Regions from separate parts of the Homo sapiens genome. Here all the other regions are linked to region 2. Evidence: promoter capture Hi-C in 16 types of primary human blood cells and fetal thymus (Javierre and others, 2016). All regions are on one chromosome and are shown on one strand. Each heading gives the region's core, a stretch centred on a gene start or on the middle of the fragment in contact. The rest is flanking DNA. Distances are from core to core; before and after follow the strand shown.

Evidence for each region. The method cuts DNA at HindIII sites, captures the fragments that hold promoters and counts their contacts. A CHiCAGO score of 5 or more calls a contact.
Region 1: a contact is called between a fragment that was not itself captured here and the fragment with the promoter of STARD5 in region 2, in 1 of 17 cell types (erythroblasts). The highest score is 5.3, in erythroblasts.
Region 3: a contact is called between a fragment that was not itself captured here and the fragment with the promoter of STARD5 in region 2, in 1 of 17 cell types (erythroblasts). The highest score is 5.7, in erythroblasts.

What each region holds. Positions count from the first base shown.
Region 1 is chr15:82,156,957-82,160,283 of GRCh38, reverse strand. EFL1 (elongation factor like GTPase 1) reads left to right here. Exons shown (of 20, transcript NM_024580.6): 17 at 2,424-2,571. Among named protein-coding and RNA genes, the nearest start is that of LINC01583, 70 kb to the right of the region's middle. The HindIII fragment of the contact is 1,253 bases long and covers 967-2,219 here.
Region 2 is chr15:81,322,884-81,326,466 of GRCh38, reverse strand. STARD5 (StAR related lipid transfer domain containing 5) reads left to right here and starts at 2,326. Exons shown (of 6, transcript NM_181900.3): 1 at 2,326-2,466; 2 at 3,519-3,568. The coding sequence starts at 2,368. TMC3-AS1 (TMC3 antisense RNA 1) reads right to left here and starts at 2,134. Exons shown (of 7, transcript NR_120365.1): 1 at 1,906-2,134. RefSeq lists a silencer at 1,785-1,834. The HindIII fragment of the contact is 9,334 bases long and covers 1-3,583 here.
Region 3 is chr15:82,230,344-82,233,905 of GRCh38, reverse strand. EFL1 (elongation factor like GTPase 1) reads left to right here. Exons shown (of 20, transcript NM_024580.6): 8 at 2,935-3,058. Among named protein-coding and RNA genes, the nearest start is that of EFL1, 31 kb to the left of the region's middle. The HindIII fragment of the contact is 457 bases long and covers 1,205-1,661 here.

The DNA of each region.
Region 1 (3,327 bases), core at 344-2,843, 830 kb before region 2:
TACTTCCAAACATGGGCTCACAAGTTGGTGCTGGCTGGGGAATCTCAGTTCCTCTCTACATGACTGTTTGAGTGTCCTGCATGGTGATTGGCTGCAGCCAGCATTCCAAAACACTAAGGCAGAAGCTATAATGCCTTTTGTGAACTAGCCTTGGGAATCACACATCATCCTTTCCACAGTGTTCTGTTGGTCACACAGGCCAGCCATGACTCACTGTTGGAGAGAGCTGCACAGGAATGTGAATATCAGGAGGCAAGGATGATTGGAGCCATCTTGGAGGCTGGCTACCACAATAATGCTTCCTTCTTTTTGAAGGTCTTGCCTGAACACTTTGTGATATAGCCATTCCAAGGTCGGCTTCTAGGTTCCATTTGTTAAAACACTTGATTTTAATGACCATTATCACTGGAAAAGGCACCTCACAAAATTGCATAGTCCAAAGGGAAGAATGATTCGTTGGCTTCCTTTACTAAGTCACGTTATCCATTTTAGTATTCCATTTTCCCAATTATTAAAAGGTTTTGGTAAAATGTATATAGTGAACATCTAGTTTTCCTGATGGCAGTCCATTTTTCTTACACTAATTAGAAGGTTTGTTAATTCTTATATCTTTATTGAACTATCCATTTGGTGATTTTAAGAACAGGTTAAGAAAATCACCTTCCAAATTGTAAGAGGTTTTTATACATTATACATGAAGTATTTATGTTATCTTTGGCAACCAAATAGCTGTCAGCGGCAACATTTTCAAACACCTAATTTCAAAATGTTGTCTCCATGTTTCAAATTTCTTTTGAAAAAAAAAAAAAAACTTTTCTTATTGTTAAACTGTTACCTTTATTTTACCTTGAAGAGACAGATTTAAGTGTGTATATATTTTTTCAGAAATATTTGTTGGGATCTCATCTTGGTGATAACCATTGTTTTTACTTTATAATTTGTTTGATGGAGAGCTGACAAAAAGCTTTGCCATTTCTTTTTTTATTATTCCCATGTGCTTATGTTATTAGTATTATAGTATTATCAGTGATATCTTTGCAGGAATCCTTTTAAGCCAGGTTTAAAATTCTGTGAAGGCTTAGTTAACACTAGATAATATCTGAAAATCCACTTAATTAGACAAAAAAAAAATTACAGTATGCCAAAAAGGAACAAATGAAGGTGCCTCTGTCAACCCTGGACACAGTGAAATCCCACTTTCCGTCTTCCCTTGGGATTCTTTGCATTCCATATGTGGCTTTTGATCACCTGACCTACAAGTGTGCTGACATCCATCCGCAGAGCATGGGCTCTCTGGCTGGCTGCCCAGCTTCTAAACCAGGTTCTGCCACTTAGTTAGTCTGGGACCTTGAACACAAGTTTATTAGTTTCTCTATACCTGTTTCCTCATCTATAAAATGAGAACAATCATCATACCGCCTCATCGTTAATGAGCTCATATATGTAAAGTGCTTGTCTGGCACATTGTTAGTGCTATGAAATGTTAGTTATTATTAGAACTTTATTTCAAAAATAAATAGGTATAGAAGTTCTAATATTCCTGCTCCCAGTTAATCGACTTTTATAAGGCATGTTGAAAATCATTGCATTGCAGAAAGTTCCTGTGATTTTGTTTGTTTGACATGCTGAAAACCAAGCATTGAGGAATTGCTAAGTCTTTTCTTCAAATGTAGAATTGAAACAAGACTGCATAAAAACGTCTTTAAGACCAAGGTTTCTGCTAAGGCAGCTGCAAGAGACTTCCTTGGACCTGCCTTGAGGGAGCAGTAGCAGTTGAGTATGTGGAAAGGGGGTGAAAAAGCAGCTAAACCCAAGATGTAGGTCACAGTCCCTATCCCTACTCTCAACTCCCAGGAAAAAGCAATTATATATGAAAAATACATGCAGAACACAATGCAGAAGATGCCTTTAGCTCACCAGATAAAGTAGCTAGTTAGGGTATTCTAAAACCCAAGTTCTAGCAAGCAGTTTCACAAATAATTATTTTTAATATGAGGCTCTGGTACAGTTTCTTGAATATCACATTAAATGTTTCTTTTGCTTATTTGTTGATTTTATAGGCGATGTTTGAGGAAATGCTCTGTTTCATTTCTAGGTATATAATGTATACATTCGTTATAAGATTTAGGTGAATTCACAAGTAAAAAGATGGTAGCTTGTATCTGCAGAGTATTTGAAGAAGTAATATAGATCAGCTTTGGGAGTCTTGATGGTAAGCTTGCGGATGTGTCATGTTTGCTATCTGTACAAAAAAATTACTAGAAGGTAGTTTTCTTCACATCACTACACTATCTGGAAGAAAAATAAATTGTTGTTTTAAGAGTTTATTTCAATGTAATTTTCCCTTCAGTAGCCAGAGCCATTGTCTTTGAATTGTGTTAGTTCTTATATCATATTTAATCTATTTCGTTTTGTTAACCTAGGTGAAATGCCTCAGCTCGTAAAAGGAATGAAACTGTTAAACCAGGCTGATCCCTGTGTCCAGATTTTAATTCAGGAAACGGGAGAGCACGTTTTAGTCACAGCAGGAGAAGTCCACCTTCAGCGATGCCTGGATGACTTAAAAGAAAGGTTAGGTGAAAATGATAGCGATGGAGAAATGATAGCTCTCAATCAATGGGATGTTTTAGTGTTTCCTAAACCAGTTGAACTTAGACTGCGGCTTATTTTTGGAGAAAAATGAAATGCCCTCAATTCAGACATGAACAGTTATTCGATTGTAGACTTATTTTTTAATAACTGAAAAATGGCATTCACTGCCTACACTTGAATAATTTTGCATTTTTAGCTTAAGTCATAAAATGTTTTTCTGTGTATGTATTTTACTTTAAGCATGTACACAAAACACACAAAATACCAGGACAACAAAACAAGATATTATTTTGTAAATGTTGGCTATGTAATTAGGATAGACTTCTTCTCTTATTGATGTGGTCTTTACAATGTAAACCTTCTGGAAATCTTTATGTTTTTCTATAAAGATGATATGTATTATAAAATGGGCATCCCAAATTTTTATAACGGGCATTTTTCTTCTTTGTTCCAAAGATAATGTATGTTTATTGCAGAAATTAGGAAAATGCAGAAGAAGAAAAAGAATCATTCAGTTATCATGCAGAAATAACCACCATTACATTCAGATTCATAAATCTGCACTGTTCTATGCATATTCAAATATACACAAATATCTATATACACAGTTCTGATTATTTGGTTAAGATAAACTTCTGGAAGTATTATAGCTAGCTCAAAAAGTATGCATATTTTTAAGGATTATGATCCATATTTTCCTCAAGAAAGACTGTTCTAATTTACATTATAACTAGC
Region 2 (3,583 bases), core at 1,077-3,576:
GAAGGCTGCCCTGACCTCACCAATCTCCTACTTCCAGTTTGTCACAGGCCTCGGGGACAGTTTGCTTCTCCAAATATTTTGTATATCCAGACGTTCCCATTTCCTAGGAGCAAAATAGTGCTACTATAGTCCTGCAGGGGGTCTACTCCATCCCCACTTTCCACCATCTGGGCTAGGTTATTTTGATGGCTACATAATATTCCACTAAGTGGATGTTCTATAACTTTGGTTAATATACTGGTAAATAGGTTACTTCCAGTTGCAAGATTAATTTTATGCATCTTTGTGCAGGAAGAGTCACTGGATCAAAGAACAAGTAGAGTAAAATTTTAATATATGTTGTTATTCTGTTCCCAGGAGGTTGCATACATTTGTACTCTCATCCGCTGTGTAACAACTATTTCTCCATACCCTCACCAACACAGGGTATAAACAAACTTCATGTTTGTCCATCAATAGGTTTTAAGAAAAGCCTCTCCTTGCTTTAATTTTTAATTCCCTAACAATGAGTGAGGTTCTGCATCTTTTTATAGCTTTGTTAGCCATGTCAATTAATTTTTCCACAAAGTATCTTTCCATGTCTAATGCATTCTTTTTGTTTATGGGGTTGTCTGAAAATTGCTTAATGATTTGTATGAGCCCTTGGTTCGATAAGAAAACTTATGTGTTAAAGTGTGTCCCGATTTTTTTCTCATATTATCTAACTTTTTATGAAATTTTGATGTGCTTAATTTTTTAATGGGATTAATTTACTAGTCTTTTCTTTTATGGGTCCTAAGAGTATTTACATGCGTTACTTCCCTCTCTCTTCACAAGGGCATAGGGAACATTTATTTGTTTGTTTGTTTATTTTTATTACTTTTTGAGACAGGATCTTGCTCTGCAGCCCAGGCTGGAGTGCAGTGGCGCGATCACGGTTCACTGCTGCCTCTGCCTCCCGGGTTGAAGCGATCCTCCCACCTCAGCCCCCCCAAGTAGCTGGGATTACAGCCCCGCGCCACCATGCCCGGCTAATTTTTGAATTTTTAGTAGAGACGGAGTCTCGCCATGCTGCTCAGGCTGGTCTCGAACTCCTAGGTTCAAGTGATCTCCTGCCTCAGCCTCCCAAAGTGCTGGGATTACAGGCGTGAGCCACCGGACCCCGCCAGGAACATTTATGATGTATCCCATTTCACCTTGGAGTAAACTGAAGCTCAAAGAATAATGAGTGAAACTGGGTTTAGATCTTGAGCTCCCTAATTCCCCATCCAGGTCTTCTTCACAGCCTGGCTGCCCTTCACATCTTCCAAAAAGGTCTTTCAAGTTGTCAATTTGTTTACACTACTCTTCCAAACATTTATATCGAAAGTTTAAAGGAAACAATAAGTACATAAAAAAGAAAGATAAGAAATAGACCTCAGTATTAACCTTTTCAAATATTTAGTTGGTGATAGCGCAGAAGAGGGGAAACCGAGGCTGTCCTTGCCATTCACGCTGTGAAGATGCGACCCTGGCTCACTCCCCGCAGCTCCAGGGCAGCTGGAAGCAGAGAACTCCCATATCTCTAATAAAGCCGGGCCTCTCGCAGATGTCAGCGCATTGCATTGACTCCTGGACACCTGCACTAAAGGCCCTTCAGGCACCTCCAACTAAATATGCCCAGAACTGAACTCACCCTATCTCTTCTCCATCTCAGGTAAGCTGCCAGGTGGCCAAGGCTGGGAGTCATGATGCTTTCTCCTTCTGAACATCCACAATCGGGGGCAGAGACCTTCACCTTCCATCTCCTAAACACTCTACGATGGGTCCTCTTCTCTTCACCCCCACTCCCCGCACCCCTGCCACACACCTCTCCCACCATTGCACGCGCCCAGTCTCCACGCGCATTTCCTCTCCCACCCTGCAGCAGCCGCCCTAGCATATTACCTCTAATGCAAATCGCACCACTGTCCCGCAGGCTGAAAGCCTCGGTGCACTCAGGACAAGAGTCCACGCTTCTTAAACAAACGGTCGACGTTGTCCGCGACCTGGCCCGGCCCAACGGGTCAGACCGTCATTGGCCATCTCACAGTCCCGGCGCTCCAGAGCCCCTCCCACAGCGGGACATGAAGGAGGCGGATACGGCTGGACCTTACCCGGCCCGCCCAAGGCGTCCGGGACCCGCCCAGGCGCTGACGCTAACTGGAGAGCCTGGCCCCGCGGTCTCCTTGTCCTGCCAATCTCCGGGAGGCGGGATCCGTCTGAGGGCCTGGACCAATTCGGGAGCGGGGGCGCGGAAAGAGGCGGGGCTACGAGCTCCTCCCAGAGCTCCAGCCTCCAGGCACCCGGGATCCAGCGCCGCCGCTCATAACACCCGCGACCCCGCAGCTAAGCGCAGCTCCCGACGCAATGGACCCGGCGCTGGCAGCCCAGATGAGCGAGGCTGTGGCCGAGAAGATGCTCCAGTACCGGCGGGACACAGCAGGCTGGAAGATTTGCCGGGAAGGCGTGAGTGAGGAGCTGGGCGGGAAGGGGTCGCGGAGACGGCTTCGTGGAGCCCGGGTCCCCAGAAGCCCCCAAGCGCCTCCTCTCCCCGTTGTTTTCTGCTCCCCAATCCCCTGGACCCGATTGAGAGGGATTCCAATGGGGATTGTTTTCTTCTTTAAAAAAAAGATTGGGCCTGTTATGCTCACAATGACTTCAGGTGGTAAGTATCTGTTCCTTTCACTCAGTGACTTGCCCAAGGTCACCTGGCTGTTGAATGCTGTTTAGGACTGGATGTTTCTGTGACAGTGGTAAAAGTAAATAAATTGCATTTAAGGGGTAAGCAGGTGTTTAAAAACAAAACAAAATGAAAGAATGTGGTCGCAGCTAAGGAGGTTTTTACATGTTGTTTAAATCCAGTAAAGTCTGATCCAGCATCTGATGCATACTAAGGTTTTCTTCTGTGTTCATTACAGCATGAACCCCTCTCTTTGTCGTTGCCAGAGGGTAGCATGGGAGTAGTTTTGCTTGACCCTTCTGACTTTTCATTACAGCATGAACCCCTCTCTTTGTCGTTGCCAGAGGGTAACATGGGAGTAGTTTTGCTTGACCCTTCTGACTTTTCATTACAGCATGAACCCCTCTCTTTGTCGTTGCCAGAGGGTAGCATGGGAGTAGTTTTGCTTGACCCTTCTGACTTTTCATTACAGCATGAACCCCTCTCTTTGTCGTTGCCAGAGGGTAGCATGGGAGTAGTTTTGCTTGACCCTTCTGACTTTTCATTAAGTAGCCCTGGGTTGCTCAAGGAAACAGAATGCCTGGTGGCTTTTAAGATAATTTTAAAAACCACCCACGGCTCTTGGAGTCAGCCAGTTAAGATCTTTTTCTTCATCACATTCTGCTGTGGGGACAGCTTTGCCCAAGACTAGTCCCAGCTTTTCCACGTATGGGTTGCACAGCCTTGGAGAGTCGTATCTCTTGAGGCCTCTTACCCCTCTTCTGTAGAACAGGGGATTAAGCCAGGTGACCAGAGCCCTTCTAGCTCTAAAATTCTGTGGTTCTGTGCCTTTTGACAGAATGGAGTTTCAGTTTCCTGGAGGCCATCTGTGGAGTTTCCAGGGAACCTGTAAGTGCATGCCTC
Region 3 (3,562 bases), core at 184-2,683, 910 kb before region 2:
TCCTTCCCCTTTTCCTCTAAAATGTCAGTGAATAGGCCAAGTTGACAGCTGCATGTGTCACAAAAGGTGGAAAATGAGCACATTCCAGAATTTGCAAGATGGTTCTATAAACTCTGCAGTGGGAAAGGATTAAGAAGTGTGACTAGAGGCTGAACCTAGGTCTTCTCCCGAAATCTATCCTGTTAATTGATGTTAATCTGGGAGAGTCTGCTCTGAAAAGCAGAAGCATATTGACTTGGATGGGTAGCATCAAGAATCTAAGTTCTTGTTTTAGATACATAGAACTGAGTCCTCAACCTTATAGAAGAGGGACAGGAGAGAAGAGAAATGAAAAGCCCTTTGTAATAGATTTACTTGTCTTTGTGTAACTGAGTATTAGAATTCTGTAATTAACATTAATCTACTGGGTAGCTTGGAGGGCAAAAGGGTGTGTGTGGCTCAGTAATTTCATACTTGACTGAGTTGTCATTCAGGAAGATAGGCAATGAATAGATCAGTAGTCTTGGAATATAAATCTTTCTGCAGGTCTCTTAGAATCTTGCTTGCAGTTACTCTGTAGAGGAAATGAATTAAAATAGAATTCAAGAATGGGGAAGTGCTAGAAATTGTCAGTGTTTAAAAATTGTAACTAATGACAAAAATAAATAAAAACACTAGCAGTAATGTCGAATGGGTTGATGTTAAGCAAATTTTGTAGTAACTACGGGATAAAAAAGAATGAAAAGGATAAGCAACAAGATTTTTGAAAGATTTGTGTACCCGTATGTGTACACATGTGTGAATATTTAATATGGTGGACTAGAAGAGCCTAGCCTAAGCAAATGGGCAAATGTCTTACTATAATTTATGATTTTGATAGAGGTTTTAGAGTGTTTATTTATAAAAATCTTTAAGTTTACCACTTTCAGAATTAAGAGCAGGATATTTATCTGACATATTATAAAAGATAAAATAATGTATAATACAGTCTGGGTAACACAAATCAACATTTAAAAAAAAATCCTGGAAGAATAGAAACCACACCAGAAATCTAACTGATCAAAACAGTTGTACCAATAAATGATTATACCAATAAATGTATGAAATCCCCTACTAAGGAGATATTTTTTAGAAAGGAAATTTTATTAAAAAAATAAATCCATAAGTTTGCTACATAAAAGAGATAAACTTAAAGCATAATGGACAGAGGCTAAATACCAAAGCTTTAGCTCAGATTATGTCAACCAAATGTGAATGAAAAGAGAGGTTTGGCAATATTAACAATAAAATAGGATTTATGGTAAATGAATTATGGCATAAGGATCATTTTCATATAGATAATTGACACATTTACTAGTGAAGAGATTAACTATCAATTATCATAACAACAAAGTGCATGAGGCAAAAATAGAACTATAAGTAGAACTCTGTAGGCACATGGTTTGGGGGCGATTTTCACAGGTTAGTAGACAGGAACATGAACCATATGAATAGAATAATTAAAGTCAGAATTTAAGTGTCAGTGAAGGATATACAAAAATTGGTCCTATATCAGGTGAAAAAATAATTCAAATTTAAAAGAAAGAAAATGTCACAGGTTTCATGTATTCATCGCTCAGTCATTATCTCTGGTTTTAACCATCTAAGAATAGACCCAAGTCGCCAATATGGAGAGCAAAGCTTCAGCTGTATTATTGAGGCCCCAGGGAGCATCACTACTAACAAATAGGGCTCCCTTCTAAGGTTAGGTTGGAGAGTGCCTGGGAAGTCAGTCCACAGTGGTTGCCTCCTATTGTTTCTTTCCATATGTGGACCTTGGACCTGCCTGTAGGTCCTGAATTGGATTTGCAAATCTGCATGGCAGGTTGCAGCCTGCCTAGCAAAACTGGGTATTTATAAATGAAAAGCCACAGAGATAAGGGTATCCTGACTTAACATCTGGAAGTAAGGCTCTGTGTGCCGTTCTGGGTGTGCTGAAACACCGGAAGCCAGGAGGAGGCCTGAATCTTTTTAGGGATCCACAGAGTAGGCAGCAAGGCAGAGCCTGCTTTCTTTTTGAGGCATAGGAACTCTACCAGTGGATTTCAGCCTTTCACCTTGTCTTCATTTGTGGAAGAGTGATTAAAGAGTCACGTGTGAACAAAGATAGTTTTATTTCTTCTTTTCTAATCAGTATACCCTTTATTTCCTTTTCTTGTGCGATTGCATTAGGTTGGGCTTTCAGTATGGTGTGGAAAAAACTGGGGATATCCTTTTTTTTTTTCCTGAGCAGGCATCTTTTAAGATGCTGGTACTTTGAAAATTCTAATCTCAAACCTTAAACTAGATTGTTCTCTAAAGAAAAGGTATTTCTTAGGTCCTTTATCCAGACAATGCAGATGCTGTATATAGGACCCTTAGTTGTTGATTGACTGTCTTCCTGTGACTGGAGACCACGGTGGTAAGTGGTTTTTCTCTGTGGGTTGATGCGAGTTAAGTCAGTGTGTGTATGTTTACCATTAATCTAGGATAATAAAAATCTTGTTTTGGCAGGTTGTGGCTCAAGAATTTCTTTCATTTGTGAGCAGCTGTCACTTAACAGCAGTGAGTAGCTGAAATAAAATTTTATTGTTGGCATAGTTGTGACAGGCAGCTGGAGCTTGCATTTTCTTGTCCCTAATTTTATCTTGTTTTACACCTGCAAAATTAAGAAAGAAAGCTATAGCATGTAGTACAATTCATATTGGTGTAGACCTGAACATGGGCTTTGGAGCCAGACCGCTTGGATTTAAATCCCCACCTCACTTGTTCCCTGTGTGATATCTCTGCTTCATTACCCTTTTCTGTAAAATGAGGAAATTTTGTAGGATACTGGATTAAGTTTAGTAATACACGTGTAAAGAAGTTTGAACAGTACCTGTCACAGAAATCAATAATCGTTGTTATTAATAACATGAACATTTGGTCTTCTTTCAGAATTGAGCACTTCGCCAGAATCTACAGTCAAAAAATTGGCATCAAAAAGGAAGTTCTTATGAAAACCTTGTGGGGAGATTACTATATAAATATGAAGGCTAAAAAGATCATGAAGGGTGATCAGGTAATGTGGTATATGTCCCTTTTGGTTGTTGGTCATATTCTTGCCCTATGAAAACCTATACTGTAATATCTTTAATAAATGTAATTCAGCTTTAATTTATGCAGGTGAGTTCATGAGGGATTTTTTACTGTATATAATTGGGAAAGGCTTACAAGTCCATATACAGGTATTATTCATACAGAATTCTTAGTCCTTTTAAGTATAGTGAGCAAAGAACTGCCTTTTCTTTTCTTTCTTTTCTTTTTTTTTCAGAAGACCAAAAATCTTAGATCTTGGGCACCTGAAGACACACATTTTGTGCTGTGCATTTGTTTGTCCCTGTCACCATAAAGAGATGTCTCTTCTAGACATCCCTGTATGGTTCACACTGTCTTTCTAGTGTCAGCTGAGGCCTTATCTCACTGCATGCTGGTCATCGTGCAGTGTAGATCGGGAGAGGTGGGTGCTCCCTGAAACCCCTTCTATAGATAGAGGTGGTGTAGGAATGCTGTCATATACCCTCAA